Linked DNA regions of Homo sapiens: region 1 is linked to region 2. Evidence: promoter capture Hi-C in 16 types of primary human blood cells and fetal thymus (Javierre and others, 2016). All regions are on one chromosome and are shown on one strand. Each heading gives the region's core, a stretch centred on a gene start or on the middle of the fragment in contact. The rest is flanking DNA. Distances are from core to core; before and after follow the strand shown. Region 1 overlaps CPEB3 (cytoplasmic polyadenylation element binding protein 3). Region 2 holds the start of WAPL (WAPL cohesin release factor).

What was found. The method cuts DNA at HindIII sites, captures the fragments that hold promoters and counts their contacts. A CHiCAGO score of 5 or more calls a contact.
Region 1: a fragment that was not itself captured here is called in contact with the fragment with the promoter of WAPL in region 2 in 1 of 17 cell types (neutrophils); the score reaches 5.9 in neutrophils.

The regions. Positions count from the first base shown.
Region 1 is chr10:92,283,827-92,286,526 of GRCh38, reverse strand. The region is part of intron 1 of CPEB3 (cytoplasmic polyadenylation element binding protein 3); the gene reads left to right. Among named protein-coding and RNA genes, the nearest start is that of CPEB3, 5.9 kb to the left of the region's middle. The HindIII fragment of the contact is 3,496 bases long and covers 1-2,700 here.
Region 2 is chr10:86,520,531-86,523,230 of GRCh38, reverse strand. It overlaps WAPL (WAPL cohesin release factor), which reads left to right and starts at 1,439. Exons shown (of 19, transcript NM_015045.5): 1 at 1,439-1,866. WAPL-DT (WAPL divergent transcript) reads right to left here and starts at 1,284. Exons shown (of 2, transcript NR_186498.1): 1 at 822-1,284; 2 at 1-722. RefSeq lists silencers at 826-1,385, 1,526-1,945. The HindIII fragment of the contact is 16,574 bases long and covers 1-2,700 here.

The DNA of each region.
Region 1 (2,700 bases), core at 41-2,540, 5.8 Mb before region 2:
TGCAACCTCCCACTCCCAGGTTCAAGAGATTCTCATGCCTCAGCCACCTGAGTAGGTGGGATCACAGGCATGCATCACCACGCCCAGCTAATTTTTGTATTTTTAGTAGAGATGAGGTTTCTCCATGTTGCCCAGGCTGGTCTTGAACTCCTGACCTCAAGTGATCCACTTGCCTTGGCCTCCCAAAGTGCTGAGATTGCAGGCATGAGCCACTGTGCCTGGCCTATAGCTACCCTTCAGAGGCATACAATCTACATACCTAAATATGTTTATATTTAGAAAAATAAAAGCAGGCTGGGTGTGGTAGCTCACGCCTGTAATCCCAGCACTTTGGGAGGCCGAGGTGGGCAGATCACAAGGTCAGGAGATCGAAACCATCCTGGCTAACACAGTGAAACCCTGTCTCTACTAAAAATACAAAAAATTAGCCGGGCATGGTGGCGGGCGCCTGTAGTCCCAGCTACTCGGGAGGCCAAGGCTGGAGAATGGCGTGAATCCATGAGGCGGAGCTTGCAGTGAGCCGAGATTGTACCACTGCACTCCAGCCTGGGGACAGACTCCCTCTCAAAAAAAAAAAAAGAAAAAAGCAAATAAAACAGAGTATAATAATGAAATATTGTATAATGATAACATGATAGCATTTGAGGAAGTGTCAAATAAACAGCATAGAAATTTAGAGTGATGTAGAAGTTCCACTGGAAACTGTTGTGGACTGGTGTGTTAAAGAGAGCTTTGTAAAACCAATTTAGGCTCTACTTTGTAGCAAGAGGAGTAATTAATGTAGGTGAAGAGGTAAAGAAGGATCTTGGGTCTGGGTAAGAATGAAAGGATGTAAAGAAAGAAGTTATCCTTTATAACTTGAACTATAGATCTGTTATGTAAGCGGAAAATATGAAGGGCTGGTGCTGTGGTTTGAATGTGTCCCCCAATGTTCATATGTTAGAAACTTAAATTCTGGCTGAGCACGGTGGCTCATGCCTGTAATCCCAGCACTTTGGGATGCCGAGGCGGGCAAATCACTTGAGGTCAGGAGTTCGAGACCAGCCTGGCCAACATGGTGAAACTCCATCTCTACTAAAAATACAAACATTAACCAGGCATGGTGGTGTGTGCCTATAATCCCAGCTACTCGGGAGGCTGAGGCAGGAGAATCACTTGAACCCAGGAGGCGGAGGTTGCAGTGAGCTGAGATTGTGCCGCTACACTCCAGCCTGGGCAACCGAGTGACACTGTGTCTCAAAAAATAAAAATAAGAAAGAAAGAAAGAAAGAAACTTTAATGCAGCAGTCTTGAGAGATGGGATTATTAAGAGGTGATGAGGTTGTGAGGGCTCTGCCCTCATGAATGGATTAATATAGTTATCAAGGGAATGAGTTCATTATCTTGAGAGCAGGTTTGTTATAAAAGTGAGTTTGGTCTTCTCTTGCTCTCTGTCTTGCACTTTCACCATGTGATTCCTTCTGCCATATTATGGTGCAGCAGGAAGGCTCTTACCAGTTTATGCCCCTTGATCTTGGACTTCCCAGCCTCCAGAACTGTGAACCAAGTAAATTTCTTTTCTTTATAAATTACCTATTCTCAGGTGTTCTGTTATAGAAGCATAAAATGGACGAAGACAACTGGTTAAATCGGGAGAATAGTTAAAAAACCTTGAATCTATTAATTCATTTAAAAAATATTGATTGTATGTGACAGGCGCTAAGCTAGGGACTGAAGATACAATGATGAGCAAAAACAAGCACAGTTTTTACCTTGTTTGTGGGGTTTATAGTTTATTATGAGAAGGATTATCACATAAATAAATGTATCAAATTGCAAATGTGGTACATAGTGTTGTGAGAGATTATAACTAGGATTTGACTTAGACCAGGAGGTCATGGAAAGTTTCTCTGAGGTAGTGTCTGTTATACCGAGGCCCCAAGAAAAGCAGGCATTAACTAGATAAAGGGAAGAGGGAAGAACATTCCAGGCCAAAGAACAGCGTGTACAAATGCCTTGTGAAGGAAATGATGAATAGAAGAAACTGAAACAGAAAGGAGATCTTGAGGCAAGAGAAAACCAAAAATATCAGTGAGTGAAAGGCTGTGAAACAAAGAGCTTTGTAGGCCAGTTTAAGGAATTTTGCCCTACCCTAGGAGAGGAGGAAGCTGCTTGTGGGAGGGTTTAGGCGTAAGAAATAGACCCCATTCTGGCCGGGCGTGGTGGCTCATGCATGTAATCCCAGCACTTTGGGAGGCTGAGGCGGGCGGATGACGAGGTCAAGAGATGGAGACCATCCTGGCCAAAATGGTGAAACTCCGTCTCTACTAAAAATACAAAAATTAGCTGGGTGTGGTGGTGTGTGCCTGTAGTCCCAGCTAGTCAAGAGGCTAAGGCAGGAGAATTGCTTGAACCCTGGAGGCGGAGGTTGCAGTGAGCCGAGATTGCACCACTGCACTCCAGCCTGGTGACAGAGTGAGACTCTGTCTCAGGAAAAAAAAAAAAAAGAGACCCCATTCTGGGCCGGGCACAGTGGCTCACACCTGTAATCCCAGCACTTGGGAGGCTGAGGCAGGTGGATCACCTGAGGTCAGGAGTTCGCGACCACCCTGGACAACATGGTGAAACCCCGTCTCTACTAAAAATACAAAAAAATAGCCAGGTGTGGTGGCGAGGACCTGTAATCCCAGCTACTCGGGAGGCTGAGGCAGGAGAATTGCT
Region 2 (2,700 bases), core at 190-2,689:
AAGAAAAAGTACTGATTCAGTATTTAGGAAATTGTAAATGTCAGAATATAAATTCTGCAGTCAGGTAGGCAAAACAATCCAACCACACTAAAATCCACCTTAAATTCCTCTTGGGAAGAGCTGCAGGGTCTCTGAACTATTTTTCCTTTATTTGGAGTTTCCCCGATTATACCGGAGGGAGCTGGATAACTTCTGGGTGCATTAAAAGCAAATTATCCATTTGTGGGAGAAGGGCGGGCTTCTCACTGAAAGCAATTAGTAGTTTTCTAATTTCCCAGGTGGGTCTCCATTAACCGCCTAACAAACACCAAGGCTGTCGGAGTCCGACGAATCATGCACCTCTCTTAGGGGGAACTGGTTGCGCTACTCTTTAGAACGCTGTTTTCCCATGGTAGCCTTAAAAAAAACTTACCAATTTTCTGAATTAGGTAACACATTGAATGGGAAAAACCTAAGATAGCACAAAAAGGCGTACAGCGAAAAATTAAGACTCCTTCCTCCCGTCATCCGCCACCTCACTGTCCTCCCTAGAGGCAATCGCTGGTTCACTTCTTTAAACTTTTTATTATGGAAAATTTCAGATACACAAGTAAAGAGACTGTATGATGAGCACATATGCTCGCATCACGCAGCTTCAACGATGAAAAACGTTCTGCCAGCTTGTTTTATTCCTCTCCCCCAGTTTTCATAGGCGTATTTTACAGTCCTGACACCAGATCACTCTGTCAACACATCAGTAGGTCTTAAAAAAAAAAAAACAAAAAACCATAACCACATTACCGTTACCACACCCAACAAAGTTAATGATAATTGCTCAATACCATCCAATATTCTCGGGGCCACTTTCAATCGGTGAGGGGCAGACGGACTTAGAGGAAGGACTGCAGGGCTGGAGGGGCGCGAAAAAGCGAGGGGCGACGCTGCTCGTGGCCTCGGGTGTCCGGCGCCTCGCGGTCCCCGCCATCGTCACCTACGCCGGGCCAGGACCGACCAGGCCAGGTCGAGGGCGGCTCTTGACCACGCGCCCCCTGCCTCCCAGCTCCCGGGCGGCGGCCTCCGCAGGCCCGGCACAGCTGCACAGCCCGCGGTCCCCAGGCACCGGCGGGTCCCTGGAGGGGAAGCGATTGATACAGCTGCCTGCACTGCGCCACCCGCCCGGCTGCCCATCTCCGTGGCACCTGCGTCTCCCGGCTGGGCCGGGAGCTAGAAGTGGCTGCCGAGACCGGGAGGGCCCGGCCAGTCGCCCGCTCCCGCTCCCGCGCCTGGTCCTCGGCCCGCGACCTCGCGGACCTGGACTACAACTCCCGTCGGGCTCCGCGGCCGGGCCAATGGCGGGCGCCGGAGCATGCGGGGCGCAGCGCCTGCGCGGCGGTTTGAGTAAGCGGCTGCGCGATTGGCTGCGGGGTCGGGCGGCCGCGCGGGGACTGTGGGAAGCGGAGTGACGGAGCGAGCGGCTGTTGGAGGAAGGAGGTGGGGGCCGGGAGCGCAAATGGCGTTGAGATGGTTCAGGGCCCTGTTCAAACTCCAGCACTGACCATTCACCGGCGGAAGCGGCGGCGCAGGAGGCGGCGGCGGCCCAGCGGGGGCACACAGCAGGCTCTGTTACCAGCTCCAGCAGTGGCGGCCAGCGAGAGCTAGGCCTGGGCCCGGCCGGCGGCGCTCGAGGCGGGGAGGGAAGTTGCGGGGCCGCCGCTCCTGCCCCCCCAACCGGGCTTCCTATTTACCGAAAGCAGAGTCCCTCGCCTCTCTCGGCTCTCACCTGCCGGCCCTGCTCTCCCGCGCGAGGGTTCCGCGCCCGCCCGCGGGCCGTAGGGAGCGGGAGAGGCGGAGGCGGCCCGTGGCCAAAGCACCCGCCAGGCTCCGAGGGTAAGTGAGGTGTCGGGCGGCCGCCTAGGCCGGGAGGGAGCCGGGAGGGTGGGGGAGGCAGAGGCTGGGAGCGGGCGGTGGAAGTCTCACTGCCTCGCCCACCGGGCCGCTGAGGAAGTTGGGCAGGGGAATGACCTGAGGAACTCTTTTTTTCCCCTTTTATTTTCCTTTTTCGGAGTTCTTTTTCGGGCGACTGCTGATTGACTTAGCTCCCCAAACCCAGTCAAGTGTGTTGATTTCAGCCCCGAGTCCTTTCCCGTGGTTTCATCCGCCTCTGGCCGCCACTGGGGCCTTGCACTGCCTTAAGGATTCGGTGGCAGAGGCTTCCGGGGCGTCGAAAGTGACCTCCCTTTCCTGGGCGGCGCGGGTTGGGAGGAGAAAAGTTGCATTGAGTGTCTAGTCCGAGGGGTCCATCGCGCCCACTGCCCGTGGCGCCCCGGCTGTCCCCAGGTGAGGATTTCTGGTTAGTCAGGTTCGTCCCGTCCGCTTTCCATCTTTAATGGAAGCCCTTAAAGCCTTTGGGGATCGGGAAGACGCTAGATTAGGGTGGGAGTGAAGTATAAAGGCTTTTTGCTTTTTTTTTTTTTTTTTTTTTTTTAAATCACAGCGCACTTCTCTCAAAATTCGACCTGATTTTGGGCTAGGGCAAAAGCCGAACGACCGAAAAGACTTAGTCGTCAATCATTCTTTCCTTTTTAGTTAGGACAGTCTTTGGAGTTTAAAGGTTGAGCAAGATTGTGTACTTGAAACACTTAAAATTTAACTTCAAGGACGTCTGCACACTTATTTTGGAATCTGTAGTGCTTTACGCTTAGATAATGCCATTGCAAAGAC